Regions from separate parts of the Homo sapiens genome. Here all the other regions are linked to region 1. Evidence: promoter capture Hi-C in 16 types of primary human blood cells and fetal thymus (Javierre and others, 2016). All regions are on one chromosome and are shown on one strand. Each heading gives the region's core, a stretch centred on a gene start or on the middle of the fragment in contact. The rest is flanking DNA. Distances are from core to core; before and after follow the strand shown.

The links. Contacts are between HindIII fragments. The CHiCAGO score rates a contact against its expected background, and 5 or more counts as called.
Region 2: a fragment that was not itself captured here is called in contact with the fragment with the promoter of PIGY in region 1 in 8 of 17 cell types (monocytes, naive CD8 T cells, megakaryocytes and 5 more); the score reaches 8.5 in monocytes.
Region 3: a fragment that was not itself captured here is called in contact with the fragment with the promoter of PIGY in region 1 in 2 of 17 cell types (naive B cells and total B cells); the score reaches 5.8 in naive B cells.
Region 4: a fragment that was not itself captured here is called in contact with the fragment with the promoter of PIGY in region 1 in 2 of 17 cell types (megakaryocytes and monocytes); the score reaches 5.6 in megakaryocytes.
Region 5: a fragment that was not itself captured here is called in contact with the fragment with the promoter of PIGY in region 1 in 14 of 17 cell types (naive CD8 T cells, activated CD4 T cells, total CD4 T cells and 11 more); the score reaches 13.5 in naive CD8 T cells.
Region 6: a contact is called between a fragment that was not itself captured here and the fragment with the promoter of PIGY in region 1, in 8 of 17 cell types (naive CD4 T cells, total CD8 T cells, non-activated CD4 T cells and 5 more). The highest score is 7.8, in naive CD4 T cells.

The regions. Positions count from the first base shown.
Region 1 is chr4:88,522,509-88,525,035 of GRCh38, reverse strand. PIGY (phosphatidylinositol glycan anchor biosynthesis class Y) reads left to right here and starts at 1,260. Exons shown (of 2, transcript NM_001042616.3): 1 at 1,260-1,538. PYURF (PIGY upstream open reading frame) reads left to right here and starts at 1,260. Exons shown (of 2, transcript NM_032906.5): 1 at 1,260-1,538. The coding sequence starts at 1,336. PIGY-DT (PIGY divergent transcript) reads right to left here and starts at 1,226. Exons shown (of 2, transcript NR_134663.1): 1 at 1,104-1,226; 2 at 45-271. It also overlaps a transcript of HERC3 not described here. RefSeq lists an enhancer at 1,903-1,962. The HindIII fragment of the contact is 19,176 bases long and covers 1-2,527 here.
Region 2 is chr4:88,019,187-88,021,713 of GRCh38, reverse strand. PKD2 (polycystin 2, transient receptor potential cation channel) reads right to left here. Exons shown (of 15, transcript NM_000297.4): 2 at 2,143-2,256. Among named protein-coding and RNA genes, the nearest start is that of PKD2, 13 kb to the right of the region's middle. The HindIII fragment of the contact is 1,370 bases long and covers 585-1,954 here.
Region 3 is chr4:88,998,338-89,000,864 of GRCh38, reverse strand. All of the region lies in intron 3 of FAM13A (family with sequence similarity 13 member A), which reads left to right. Among named protein-coding and RNA genes, the nearest start is that of FAM13A, 58 kb to the left of the region's middle. The HindIII fragment of the contact is 1,559 bases long and covers 483-2,041 here.
Region 4 is chr4:88,061,081-88,063,607 of GRCh38, reverse strand. PKD2 (polycystin 2, transient receptor potential cation channel) reads right to left here. Exons shown (of 15, transcript NM_000297.4): 10 at 1,604-1,702. Among named protein-coding and RNA genes, the nearest start is that of PKD2, 55 kb to the right of the region's middle. The HindIII fragment of the contact is 6,084 bases long and covers 1-2,527 here.
Region 5 is chr4:88,231,983-88,234,509 of GRCh38, reverse strand. No RefSeq gene overlaps it. Among named protein-coding and RNA genes, the nearest start is that of PPM1K, 51 kb to the left of the region's middle. The HindIII fragment of the contact is 2,096 bases long and covers 210-2,305 here.
Region 6 is chr4:88,258,991-88,261,517 of GRCh38, reverse strand. PPM1K (protein phosphatase, Mg2+/Mn2+ dependent 1K) reads left to right here. Exons shown (of 7, transcript NM_152542.5): 7 at 1-2,527. Among named protein-coding and RNA genes, the nearest start is that of PPM1K, 24 kb to the left of the region's middle. The HindIII fragment of the contact is 998 bases long and covers 767-1,764 here.

The sequences.
Region 1 (2,527 bases), core at 11-2,510:
TTTTTTTTAAAAAAAACAGGATGGCCCAAAAAACAAACAAAAAATTAGGATGAACATATAAACATTTGTCAGTTTATTTTTACATTGGAGTGGAAGAGAAATTTGAAAATATAAACATATTTTTGGATTCTGTACTTCCAGCTCCAGGAACTCAAAGTGTGAAATGATAATGCCCAGTGATGCAAAAAAAAAGTTCAGGTTGATATTCAGCAGAACGGAGGGAAAAAATGGATGACTAATGAGAATCTTTGAGTCTTCGGACATGGAAAAACTAGATGAACTAAAAATAAAAATAGACAACATTAATGGAGCATTAATTTGTGCCAGGCACTTTTCTAAATGTTCTTCGAATGCACAATCACATTTATGCCCTACCTACAAGGTAGGTACAATTATTAGTCTTATACAGATAAGGAAAATGAGCAGTTAAGTCATTTGCCAAAGTCATCCAGCTACTAATTGTGGACAGGGAACCAAGCTGTCAGGCCCCAGAGCCCAAGTTCCCATCTACTACACTGTAAGAAAGAGATCTAACATGGTCACTTTCTTGGAGAGTGGGAAGCAAACCTGGGATACAAATTCACTGAATGGATCACCCACTCATTGAATGGATCTTTAACAGGCAGATCACATCTGCCTGTTACACAGCTATTTAGGCCCCTTGCGGCCTCCAAGCTCATTTATAGAAGTAAATTAGCTGTGCTTTATTACGCAAATACTTCACAATGACTGGGTCTCAGGCAGGAAGAATTTATATATTTTGGAGGGTCAGAGGCCTAGGCCCTTCCTTCCAGGTTCTCACTTTTTTTAATGAGAGAGAAAAAAGCCAAACAAGGTTACAGAAACTAATGGTATAGTAAAGATGTACATGAAACAAATGAGCGCTTTCAATACATCCATGACAATACATTCGGTACAATACATAACAGTGTGTTTGAAACTTCACTTGGAGGTAACCACGTAGGTCCAAGCCTAACTCCCTACAACTCTGAGGCCTGGCCACTGGCTTCCTAGCATCCTTGGACAGGCCCCGGTGAAAACCCAGACACCTTGACTTAAACACTGGTTTAGTTTGTAGTCTGGTAAGGCGGCGGGGCACTCACCAGAGGCCTCTGCCCTGGGGCTGTCCTCCGGACTATAGATGACGCCCGTGGGAAAAGCAGTCGGAGCAGAAGCACCCTCGGAACCAAAGCGCCCGCCCCGCCTACTCCTCGGCAGCGTTTCCTGGAGGACCAGGGGGCGGGGCCTGCCCGGCTGGCCTGGACGAACGGGAAGCCGGGAGCTCGGCCACGGGTGGCGAGGCTGCGGTGAGGCCTGGTCTCCGGCTGCCAGACCATGCTGAGTGGAGCACGCTGCAGGCTCGCCTCAGCGCTGCGGGGAACGCGCGCGCCGCCGTCCGCGGTCGCCCGTAGGTGCCTGCACGCGTCGGGGTCGCGGCCTTTGGCCGACCGGGGCAAGAAGACTGAGGAGCCGCCCCGCGACTTCGATCCGGCGCTGCTGGAGTTCCTGGTGTGCCCGCTCTCCAAGAAGCCGCTCAGGTAACTCGCTGGCCTTGGCCCTTCCTTTGCAGCCTCCCGGTGGGCGGAAAGGGAGCGGTGGACCGCGGCCTCTTGCAGCCACTGGGGCCTTGTAGGTCGGTCAGGTACTCTCCGCTGCCACATTCTGGACTCTGTCCTCGCCGGGCGCACAGCGGGCAGGACGGGGGAGACCGGAGGCCAGGGGAGCTGCGTCCCACATCTCCCAGAACGCAACGCCAGCCTGCGGGAATGGCTCGAAGCGTTTTAGGGTTCGCGACCGGCTGCGCATTGCAATCACCCGGGGACCGTTTTAAAAATGCCGATTCCCCGACAGCCCCCAAGACGGGCAGACTTGGAATGCTCGCGGGATGGGACCTGAACATTTGTATTTTCTTTTCCTTTTTTTTTTTCCTTTTAAGAGACAGGGTGCCCCCTACGTTGCCCAGACTGGCCTAGAACTCCCGCCTCAGCCTCCTCAGGAGTCGAGAGACAGGCGCCGCCCCCACGCCCAGCTTATCTGTGTTCTTAAACGGTCCCTAAATGATTTCTAATGTACCACCAGGTTTATGAACCACTGCGATTCAGGACAAGTCCGAAGCCTTCCGGTTTTTAAGCCAAGATAATGAAAAGTATTGTTGTACCCTCCAGATTCTTGTGAAAGTGTCTTGTACAACTGGTGCCTGACAATCTTAAGCAATTCAGCTGTGTTTGCTGCCCAGTGGCTCTTAGTTGTGGCCTAGCAGGTTTCGTAGAAGCCTCTTTAACTAGTTTTTGGGAAGACAGCTCTACAGTTTCCAAGCTACCAAAATTGAATATTGACAACACTAACGCTAGTATTACAAATCGCATAAACACCAAAATGTTATCAGTGGTTATCTTTGAATGGTAGATTGCTAGCAATTTTTCGTATTTCTTTTTCCCGTAATAAACATATTATTCAATTTTCTCGAACCTTGAAATTATCATTTGATTTACGTTTATAACTAGCTCACTGCAGACTTAGTGCTTTC
Region 2 (2,527 bases), core at 20-2,519, 500 kb after region 1:
GCTAAGGACGAACTTTCTAACATAGCTGTAGAAAAATGAAATGAACGATTTCAAAGAAGTAAGTCCCTTAACCTGGGACTCTTGTTCAATCAGAGGCAGTATGAGTAACCATCTGAGACGGATGTTTTAAAGAGAATTTAGCATTCAGTGAGGTCAGACCATATGACTGCTAAGATACTTTCTTAAGTAGAGATTCTACAATATTCCAAAAACAAAATTTTTAAATATATAGCTACTCACATAAGAAATAAAATGTGATTTGCATGAAAAAGAACAAAAAGCGACAATATTCTCAAATAAACAAGAAAACCAATTCATTATGTGACTTTAGGCATATTTCCTAAAACTCTGTCTTCAGCTTACTTCTCTGACTTACCTTCCAAATTTATCACTACATCTGAAAACTCGTTTCTCTAGGCTACATTATGGAGGCTCTGTTAGTAGATCTCGGAAAACCACATATGTATTTTAAAATCAGAGTGATTCTAATGCTCAGTCAGTTTTGGGGACTGCTGAAATTCTAGACTTACGTACAGGGGTTACCTTCTATTTTGCATAAGAAATTTGTCTGTATATGTAAAGCTTGAAAAGAACTTAGTAATTCTAATCAACTTGTTAATATTTAAGGCCACTGCAGTTTAATGTTTAAGCATCATTTTAATGCAGGCAGCAAACTCAATCTCAAGTTTCTAAACTCTAACAATTTAAAACATAAAAATATCACATCCAGGCTGGGTGCAGTGGCTCATGCCTATAATCCCAGAACTTCCAAGGCAGGAGGATCACTTGAAGCTAGGAGCTGGAGACCAGTATAGGCAGCAAAGTGAGACCCCACCTCTACAAAAATGTTTTAAAAGTTAGCTGGGCATGGTGGTGTGCAGCTGTAGTCCCAGCTACGTGGGTGACTGAGGTGGGAGGATCACTGAAGCCTAGGAGCTCGAGGCTGCAGTGAGCTATGATTGTGCCACTGCACTCCGGCCTGTGAAACAGATCAAGACTCTGTCTCTAATTTAAAAAAAAAAAAAAAAAAGGAAACCTTTTCTCAGAGGAGTTTGGTAGGAGGCTCTGGGGTCATAAAACTGCTTCCTCATCTGTTCTCGTGAAGACTTTAGATGAGACATGACAGAAATCCATCATCGAACGCCCTTTGATTCAGAGGACAAATCCATCACCTGTGGCTTTCTGGACTTTGAGACAAATGGTTCCTACAGCTAGTCTCTCGCTCAGGCATCCCTCCCCTCCCCCTACCAGAGGATGGGAAGACGAACTGAAAGAAGGAAAGAAGACGAAAGAGATGGGCCTATAGCAAGTTTCTTGTGGAGTAAAAGTCCAGCAATTATTAAAGATTGAGAAGAAATAATGAATTAAAATGAGGCAATGACACAACATATCCAAATCCAAAAGAAGGGGATATTACATGTATACGCCAATAAAAGCAATATTAGTAGCATTATTTGTATTTCCTGAAAGTTAAATTTGGAAAGTCATTTTTCTGGAAACAATTCTTATGCAGACTTTATGTTAACTGATATAATAATAGTATGACAATAATGATGATACTGTAATAATGGTGATACTGTATTCATTGTTAAGGAATCTAATACAAAAATCCTCTAACTTGGTTTCTTGGTGTCTGGCAAGTTGCCACGCGTATCTCATAGTGAAAATCACCACCACTGACGATGAACTGGCTGGTCAGATAATGCTGATTTTTAATTAATGTTTACCAGAGTGCAGAAGAGAACTTGACCAAATTCTAAATTGGAATTGAACTCTTTGCCTCTCCCGTCCTGTGTTAAACGCAAGTCCACAGTCACTTAGCATTTGGTCACAATTTAGTCACAATTAGAAAAATTCTTTCTTATATATTTTTCAGAGCCTTCTGTTGCCATCTGCAGTTTTGGGAAATGGGGGTACAGCAGAGAACAAATCACGTCCCTTCTCTTATAAAGCTTGCATTCTACCATAGGAAGATAGTCAATAAACAAATGCCCAAATAAAAATATTAGAATTAAAAACAAAGGTAAGAAGGTAACTTCCCAGTTGCCCCTCTGGTGCATACACACTTCCTTTTAATTATGATTTGGATAGGTCAAATCTTTTCAAAACTTTCCCATTAGTGCAAGGAAATATTCTACTTACAGATGCACAAGACTATGAGAAAAAGGAGGTATGTGACCAGTTCCCGTAAAACACTTTTAAGGTATTTCTCTCGGTTAGTGCTGCTTTCCTCCATGAGTCTTGTTCCCCAGAGACCTTTAAAATAATAATGAAGAAAAGAAAAGATATCATTTTATTTAAGAAATCTCATGAATGGCAAAAGGGAAAATAAAGCACAAATTAAAAAGTTCACCTATAAGGGAGATTCTCCTTTTTTTTTTTTTAATCACATTTTGAATGCAACTGAGAAACTGGTTTTGTAGGCCTACCTTTTATTTAAGAGTACATCTGGCTCCAATGTTACCCCAAACATGCAAAACATAAGGCAACAATTCTGATCATTTTATAGGCTCCCAAGCCCATTAGC
Region 3 (2,527 bases), core at 13-2,512, 480 kb before region 1:
AAAAAATTGTCATTTTAGTGGGATATTAGGAGGAGAAGTAGGTACACTCATCTTTAACTGAAATGATCTGTCATCTTTATCTGAAAGGTCTCCTCTGACTTTCTTTTCCCATGCTTAATTTTTTCCCATGCTTGATTTTGAAGTCAACAGAATTTCTTTATAACAGCTTTATTGGTATATAAATTACCCACCATAAATTGACCTTCTTAAAGTGTACAATTCAGTGGTTTTTGATCTATTCACAAAGTGCAACCATCACCATTATCTAACTTTCAAACATTTTTATGACCCCAGAAAGAAACCGTATGCCCATTAGCAGTCACTCCCCATTCCTCCCTCCTCCCACCACCCACATCCTTAGGCAAAGACCAGTCTACTTTCTTTCTATAAACATTTGCTTCTATGGACATTTCATAAATGGAATCACACAGTATGTGGTACTTTGTGACTGGCTTCTTTGATCTAGCATAATGTTTCAAGCTTTATCTGTGGTGTCACATATATCAGTACTGCATTCCTATGGCTGGTTAATATTCTATAGTATGAATATACGATATTTTACTTATCCATTCATGTTGATGGAAATTTGGGTTATTTCCATTTTTTGGCTGTTATGAACATTTATGTACAAGTTTTTGTGTGGATATATGCTTTCATTTCTCTTGAGTATCTACCTGTAATTGCTATGTTATATTGTAACTTTATTTTGAGTAACTATTTTCTAACATAGTTTTAGAAAGATTATAGGCTTGAAGAGGAAAAGCAGGATACCCAGCAGCTCCAAGGCCAAGAAGAGGCCCATTGGGGATATTATGGAATTAATTGTGAGCTGGGTGAAATCCTCAGTAAGTTCTTTGTTTTTTTAGTAATGCTTTTATGTTGGAAGAAGAAAAGACATAGTCAACAAGTGAGTTATTTAAAAAGTATACAACTTGTATTAACAGAAAATCAATCTACATAAAAAATATTAAAAATTTGGTTAAAGAATATCAGTTGAAGGGATAGCCAGATGATTAGCTTGCTAGCCACTTAGAGCTCTGCCCTAACTCTGTCAAGCCGTGTTTTGAACACCTGCTTTACTGAACCCATGGAAATAATCAACCTTTTACAATGAGTCCATAAACAATTTGAGGCCCTTAGGGGAGAAAGGAGGGGTAAGAGGACATACAAATAGGCTTAAGTAACTCTGGGCTTGGTTTAACTCATATGGCACCAAATCCACTTACAGGCCACTTATAGCTGAGCATTTAACCAGTAGTGCCTAGAAAAAAACCAACTGGTGGTAGTATGATTTCATCTGAAACTATATATTTACTGTACTTGGCCCATTTAATGTAGTGCTAGATTGATGGAGAAAGCCTAGTTTTATTAGCTGAGATACTGCCAATATTGTTTCAGATTAGCATTTTACATTGTGTGAGGCTCTCTGTCCTATATGCTGTTTGTTTTTTCCAGTCTCCTCGGTACATAAATTCTCATACAAATAAGTTCTTCAGCTGCTAAATGCTTGTGTCTAACCTTTATTGTAGATATGAGGTTCCAGCTTTATAATTTAGACTATTTTATATTTTTATGTACACCACCTGTCCCGACTGACAAGCATTCAGTACCCAATAAATACTCACAAAATAAATATGCTGAGATACTATTTAGGCATTATCAGGAGTTTGTTTTGGTTATAGGACTAAAGTGTAAAATATCACCTAATTCTTTGTTCTTCCTGCAGGCCTTTGCTCTTGGACATACAGGTTCTCTCTGGGAACAGGAGGATCACTGTAAATATTGACTAATTTGGCAATAAACATACCTCTGCATTTTGCAGAATCTAATCAGAATGATAAGATTCGTAGTTTCACTAATAACCTCTAAGAATAGAGGGTAATTTATTAATTTTTATTAGTCACTTTATCAGTCTGCCCTTTGAGAAATTTACGTGAGGCCTCTGAGAACCATATCATGGTCATGAGGTTGTAAGAGATTTGTAAGAAACATAATCCCTCCTTTTGCATAGGAAAATGAAATTCTGTTGCCTATATAAGCTTCTCATCACTCCAAAGAAGTGATTCCAGTCTTGGGGAATGAAATGCGGAGGTAAAACCCAGTCTGATTCTGTACAGCTGGCATTTCATAATTATTTTTCTCATTCTTCTGTAAATACATATTTAGAAAGAAATATAATTCATGTTTTGTTTATTCTTATGTAGTTTATATTTTGTGCCCATGCAGCCTTATAGGTTTCTATTAAAATTTTATTTCTCCACAAGCCCTGAGAATTTACGAAGCTATAGTTTCTCACAAATTAATTAAGATTCCCACCTCTCCACTACACAACAGATTTGTTTATTGATTGATTAATTCAGGAAACATTTCTTAAATATTTACATACATGAGACATGGTGTTAGCTGCTCTGTAATAATGATAACAATAATAGCTAACTTTGTAAGAGTATGCTGATCAAATTGTATGTTATGAGGTCCTGGGCACTTGGATTTAAATTGTAGCTCAGCTATTTGGTACCTGGGTGAA
Region 4 (2,527 bases), core at 16-2,515, 460 kb after region 1:
CTTCCAGTGTTACCATTTTTCATTTCTTTGCTAGCCCATTCTCTTTTTCTTTTCTTTTCTTTTCTTTTTTTTTTTTGAGACGGAGTTTCGCTCTTGTTACCCAGGCTGGAGTGCAATGGCACGATCTCGGCTCACTGCAACCTCCGCCTCCTAGGTGCAAGCGATTCTCCTGCCTCAGCCTCCCCAGTAGCTGGGATTACAGGCATCTGTCGCCACACTCAGCTAATTTTGTATTTTTAGTAGAGATGGGGTTTCACCATGTTGGCCAGGCTGGTTTCGAACTCCTGACCTCAGGTGATCCATCCGCCTTGGCCTCCCAACATGCGTGAGCCACTGCACCCATTCTCTTTTTCAATTATCCATTTTTGTAAAATGTCACATGGGCTTATTACTGGAACACAAGGAAGCAACACTACATGCTTTCTTTGTTTGTGAATTGGATAGCAGATGCTCAGTGACCAATTAGTAACAGACTGAAAATAGTGTCATGACTGACCAGTGAGCCTGCTCAGCCTGCACATCTGTTACTCAGGTAACTGATCTATACACTGAAGAGCTAGCAGTGGAGTTTGTACTTTGTGCTGTTACTCAGAGTTAATATACTATGATAACTGAAATTTGAACTGTGTTGTTGAAGGTGGTGTTACATAACAAAACTGGGGTAACCAAAGTTTGTGTGTATCAGAATTGTGCCAAGTGAGGAGTGCTTGCATACACACTGGAGATTTGCTAAAATGTAAGCAACTGTTATGCGGAATCAAGATAATGTGAATCTTAGGTCCCATCCCAAGGACTTTGTTTTAAGAGGCTTAAGTTTTCTATTATAACATATATCACAGATAACATAATCCTAAGGCTTGGACTAATAAAAAAAAAAATTACAGTTAAGGAGCCACTATGACTTAGCAAAATGATGTTGGGAAACAAACTGTGTATTTTAAATGTGGTTATTTGTTGTTGTATACATTTTATACTTTAAACCAAATAAAGAAGTTACATTGAGAAGAACAAAGAGGCCCAACTTTCCTGTCCTGCCCTTCTATTTAACAATGAAACCCTTCCTGAGAAGGTGCATAAGTAAAAGTTCTCAGGCCCCAGGCTATGGCCTGAATTCATGAATCTTTTCCTTTGCTTATTTTAAAACTGCCGTGGAAGGTCAAGGGTAAAGGGTGAACTACTAAGTGTTTTCCTCTAAAACTTTTTATTTTTTTAAAATGGTAATTGAGACAGAAGAGGTGGAAATCCCTTTATATAATCTTCCCTTCTAGTTTATTCTCAACTCAGGATCCTGAAGTGAGAGCCAGCTACAGGAGATGTCAAAATAATGAAGGTGATGAACCTTCAGCTCAGCTCTTAAAGTGTCAAAAGATTGTTGAGAATTTAATTCCAGGGCATAAAAGGATTCCCAGAATTAAAATTCAAGATAGCAGTATATCCATCAAGACTCCAAGATAGGGAACATTTAAATTATTCCTGAAATATAGCAATGTATTCTTTATTTCAAACAATTTCAATGGATCAATGTTGATTTGAAAATCTGGGTGAAACAATGCTCATTTTATGTCAGAAACAGAAGAATTCTGAGAATTAAGGTTTTTCCTACCTTTCTGATAAGATCTGAGAGTTCCATTTCAGCTTTCTGCTGTGCCAAGTCAGATTTCACTTCAGAGTAAGTATCATTGATGATAGCCAAAAACATATTCTGTTTGTAAATGAAAGGAGGGCAAAAATTAAAGGAAGAAACATAATTTGGAATTATCAATCAAAAAAATGACACATGCCTTTTTGTTTATCCTTTTTTTCCTAATCTGAGTGCTTTATGAAGACATAAATTTATTATTTATTTATTTAAAAAAAAATTTTTTTTTTTGAGACAGAGTCTCACTGTGTTGCCCAGGCTGGAGTGCAGGGGCGCGACCTCAGCTTACTGCAACCTCTGCCTCCTGGGTTCAAGCAATTCTTGAGTCTCAGCCTCCTGAGTAGCTGGGATTACAGGCATGTGCCACTACACCTGGCTAACTGTTGTATTTTTAGTAGAGACAGTGTTTCACCACGTTGGCCAGGCTGGTCTCGAACTCCTGGCCTCAAGTGATCTGCCCGCCTCGGCTTCCCAAAGTGCTGGGATTGCAAGCGTGAGCCACTGTGCCCAGCCTGATGTAATAAATTAACAGTTTTGCTGCCACATGTTTTGGGAAGATTATTTTCTCCGTTAAGTCATGCCACAGGAAAAATTTTATGATATACTTTGTGAAAACATACAAGAATAAAATACAACAAAATATTAGTATATTTACCTACTAATGGTGCGATTATTTTATTTAATATTATTTTTGCTTATCTATGTTCTCTATATTTAGAAACTTTTACATACACTACTGAAGGGTATAGAATTCCAAAAAGCTCTTCAAATTTCAACAGTTAACACAGATAAGTAGAATTGTATGCTTATTCCAAGTTTTTTTGTATAATCATATATGAAATTTACAGGACACATTTTTAAAGAGTTTAAAAGGCTGTTGCAAATAGG
Region 5 (2,527 bases), core at 8-2,507, 290 kb after region 1:
GAAGAATGAAACTAGACCCCTATCTCTTACCATATACAAAAATCAAATCAAAATGGATTAAAGACCTCAAACTATGAATCTATCTAAAGAAAACTTTGAGGAAACTCTCCAGGACATTGGACTGGGCAAAGATTTCTTGAATAATACCCCAGAAGCACAGGCAACCAAAGCAAAAATGGACAGATGGGACCATATCAAATTTAAAAGCTTCTGTACAGCAAAGGAAACAATCCACAAAGTGAAGAGACGACCCACAGAATGGGAGAAAATATCTGTAAACTCTCCATTTGACATGGAATAAATAACCAGAATATACAAGGAGCTCAAACAACTCTATAGGAAAAATATCTAATAGCCTAAGTATAAAATGGGTGAAAGATTTGAATAGACATTTCTCAAAAGAAGATGTACAAATGGCAAACAGGTATATGAAAAGGCTCTCAATATCACTGATCATCAGAGAAATGCAAATCAAAACTACAATGAGATATCATCTCACCCCAGTTAAACTGGCTTTTATCTAAAAGACAGTCAATAATAAATGCTGGTGAGGATAGAGAAAAGAAAGCCCTCATACACTGTTGGTGGGAACATAAATTAGTACATCCACTATGGAGAACAGTTTGGAGGTTTTTCAAAAAACTAAAAGTAGAGATACCATATGATCCAGCAATCCCACTCCTAGGTATAAATCTAAAAGAAAAGAAATCCGTATATTGAAGAGATATCTGCATTGCTATGTTTGTTGCAGCTGTATTCACAATAGCCAATATTTGGAAGCAACCCAAGTATCCATCAACAGACAAATGGATAAAGAAAATGTGGTACATATACACAGTGGAGTGCTATTTAGCCATGAAAAAGAATGGGATCTGGCCAGGTGCAGTGGCTCATGCCTGTAATCCCAGCACTTTGGGGGCCGATGTGGGCAGATCACGAATTCAGGAGATTGAGACCATCCTGGCTAACGCAGTGAAACCCCGTCTCTACTAAAAATACCCACATGGTGGCGGGTGCCTGTAGTCCCAGCTACTTGGGAGGCTGAGGCAGGAGAATGGCATGAACTCGGAAGGTGGAGCTTGCAGTGAGCTGAGCTTGCACCACTGCACTCCAGCCTGGGTGACAGAGCGAGACTGTCTCAAAAAAAAGAAGAATGAGATCCTATCATTTGCAACAATACAGATGGAACTGAAGGTAATTATGTTAAGTGAAACAAGCCAAGCACAGAGACACAAACGTAACATGTTCTTACTTATTTGTGGGAGCTAAAAATTAAAACAATTGAACTCATAGAGATAGAGAGTGGAAGAATGGTTACCAGAGGCTGGGAAAAGTATTGGGGAGGTGGGGGGAAGTGGGATGGTTCATGGGTACAAAAAATAATTAGAAAAAATAATTAAGACCTAGTATTTGCTAGCACGACAATGTGACTGTAGTCAAAAATAATTTAATTGTCCACTTAAAAATAACAAAAACACATTAGTCACATGTGGTGGCACACACCTGTAATCCCAGCTACTTGGGAGGCTGAGGCAGGAGGATTGCTTGAACCCTGGAGGTGGAGGTTGCAGTGAGCTGAGATCATACTGCTGCACTCCAGCCTGGGCATTAGAGTGAGACCCCATCTCAAAAAAAATAAATAAATAAATAAATAAAATGAAAAAAGTATAATTGGATTGCTTATAATACAAAGGATAAATGTTTGAGGTGGTGGATACCCCATTTACCCTGATGAGATTACCACACATTGTGTGCCTGTATGAAAATATCTCATGTACCCCATAAATATATACACCTACTATGTACCTACAAGAAATAAAAATTTAAAATTAAACAGAAAAAAAAAATCCCTGACGGAGTTATTGCTTAATGATTACAGAGTATCTGTTTGGGGTGACAAAAAAGTCTTAGAAACAGTGACGGTGACACAACATTGTGAATGTAATTAATGCTACTGACTTGAACTCTTAAAATGTTTCAAATGGCTAATTTTATGTTATACATATTTTACCATATTAAAATAAATTTATAAAAATAGATAAATGGAATTTCTTAACAACTTCAAGATTTTTTAAACGTTCATTTCATTTCAATAAATATTTACAAAATGCCTAATTTGTCCTAGGTACTGCACAACACAGTGAATAATCAGGATAGTGACTTAAATATAAACAGAACTTAACAGCAAGACAAATTCAGTAATCGGTATTTTGTGAATCTCATGAAATTTATCATGACAACTCTGTAAGGAAGGTATTATTGTTATCACTATTTTATTGTTGGGGAAGGCTTGGCTTAAGAAGCTTTTCAAGGCCAGTAAACAGTGGAATTAGAAGCACTTAGTAAATGTCATATTTTTTCTTTTGACATCTATCATGTTTTCAGAATATGAAATGCCTATTTAACTCCAGCCTGGGTGACAAAGTGAGATCTTGCCTAAGAAAAAAAAAAAAAAAAGCCAGGTTTGGTGGTTCATGCCTGTGATCCCAACACTTTGGGAGGCTGAGGTGGGAGGATTGCTGGAGGC
Region 6 (2,527 bases), core at 16-2,515, 260 kb after region 1:
TCTTCCGGTCAAAAGTTAAATACTGATGGAATCAAGTATTTTGTATGAAGTTCTCATTTGTTATCTCTAACGCTATTTTGTGTTTTGCATATAGTATTATAGTATGTGTATATCACTTTTTGTATAGAGTAAGCAATTGAATAATTTGTTAATAAAAATAATACCACATTGACTGATACTGCTATAGACATAGCTTGAGTTTTATGTCTCCTTTTTGCTCATTTTCTAAGACTTAGGAGAAAGAATAAATCTAAAATGACCATTAAAACATTCTCCATTTCAGCTTGCTGTGTAACTTAGGAAGTATAAAACTATACTTCTCTTTATCTGCATGTAAGTTTGCTGTTAAAATGTGAATTTCTAAATGTGTATTTGGAATTATTTCCGTAGTTTATTTCTGCAAACTATGTAAATTTGTTATATGTGTGAGTATGTGTACATATGTATATTTTAGAGTAATATAAAATTAAAGGGAACAATCTTGCATAGCTCTTTCACCAGTTTTAAATTATTGATACGTTATTTTTAAGGACTCTTGACAAACTAGGGGCAATTTTCTTATAGTGGAGACCCAGTGATTATCAGCAGATGAGGAAATAGGTTAAAAATTGCTATATGGCAATTTGTATATAAAGTAATAGGATGTGAGAAAAATACTGAATCTTAAGAATGACATGGAATTCTGTGGCAGAAACAAAAGAAAAAGTTGATGTAGTATATACCTTCAACTGTGTTTTGAGTTGACTTTTTTTTTTTTCTTTAAGCTTTGGGTAAAAATGTATGAGGAGGGAGAGGGCCCAATATAAATATTTACATCTTCTTACCTTTTTGGAAATGGAAGAAGATAAATCTTGAGTTTTTCTGCCTATATTAATCAGGAATTGCCCTTTGAAAAAAGTGCTAAATAAATATTTTGATTTTTTTTTTCAAGGGAAGTTAGGTGAAAGAAGGAAAAACATCACAGGAAAGACTGTTAACATTCTGTTTGTTGTCTGAGAGGTGAGGAACCAAAGGGAGGCAACTAAAGCGGGAAACCATCTTGCTTTTTCTAATCAGTTCTTGGAACAGAAATGTGGAAGCTACCTTTAGGAACATGGAGAATTTCCAAACCAACAGGCAAAGGAAAACTAACGCACAAAAATGACATTCTGAAGATGCAGGTTTCAGCCAGGCGCGGTGGCTCAAGCCTGTAATCCTAGCACTTTGGGAGGCCAAGGCAGGTGGATCACCTGAGGTCAAGAGTTAGAGACCAGCCTGGCCAACATGGTGAAACCTCATCTTGACCAAAAAATGCAAAAATTAGCCAGGCGTGGTGGTGGGTGCCTGTAATCCCAGCTACTGGGGAGGCTGAGGAAGGAGAATTGCTTGAACCTGGGAGGCGGAGGTTGCAGTGAGTCGAGATCGCGCCATTGCACTCCAGCCTGGACAGCAGAGCAAAAACTCCATCTCAGATAAATAAATAAACAAATATGCAGGTTTCATTTTTGTTTTGAATGCTTTACATTACTATTCCTATCTTTTACTTTAAAAACTAAGATGAGGAGTGATGTTGTCAAGTTCAAAGGCATGAGGGTGATTGATGGATTGAGGTAGATAGCCAAGTTTGTCTGTTTTTGTTTTTTATAGTTACAGAGTCTCACTTTGTTGTCCAGGCTGAAGTGCAGTGGTGCAATCATAGCTCACTGAGATTGCCAGGTTCGACAAAGAGGAATTTATAGGATGGGGATATAGGGTAGACTTGACTCTGCTTTATCCGGGAAAGCTTTTAAAACTCTGAGCCAGTTAACTTTGAGTAAGCATAAAACATACTGTATTGGTGTTTGTATTTTTCATGCCACAATATTAAAATGGAATTTTAAATGTAGATTATTATAATCTATAAAAGATAAGTATGCATGTATTAGGATACTGGAAAATATGCAAATCATAGTAAAAAAAAAGGGACTGCTCTAGTTTTTCAGTTATAACTGAATTTGCCATGTGGGTATAGGCATAGTGTAAATTACATTAATGTAGTAAAACATCAATTGTGGTTCGGTTTGTCTTTCATTTATGTGTAGTATAGAAATCACCTTTCTAATATGTGTTGCCAAACTATTTGCCACCATCTATTTGGTGAAATATTCATTGTCATTGTGATTTTCCACAAGTATAAGTTCTTAAGTACTTTATAGATTCAGAAGTAAATGCTGTCCTGTTCTCCATCAGCTGTTCGTTTGTTACAGATTTTGTATTTCTTTTTTTTTTTTTTTGAGATGGAGTCTCACTCTGTCACACAGGCTGGAGTACAGTGGTGCGGTCTCGGCTCCCTGCAACCTCTGCCTCCCGGGTTCAAACGATTCTTCTGCCTCAGCCTCCTGAGTAGCTGGGACTACAGGCGCGTGCCACCACCCCTGGCTAATTTTTGTATTTTTTTTTCTTTTTTTTTTTTGAGAAGGAGTCTCTCTCTGTCACCCAGGCTGGAGTGCAGTGGCACGATCTCGGCTCACTGCAAGCTGCGCCTCCTGGGTTCACGCCATTCTCCTGC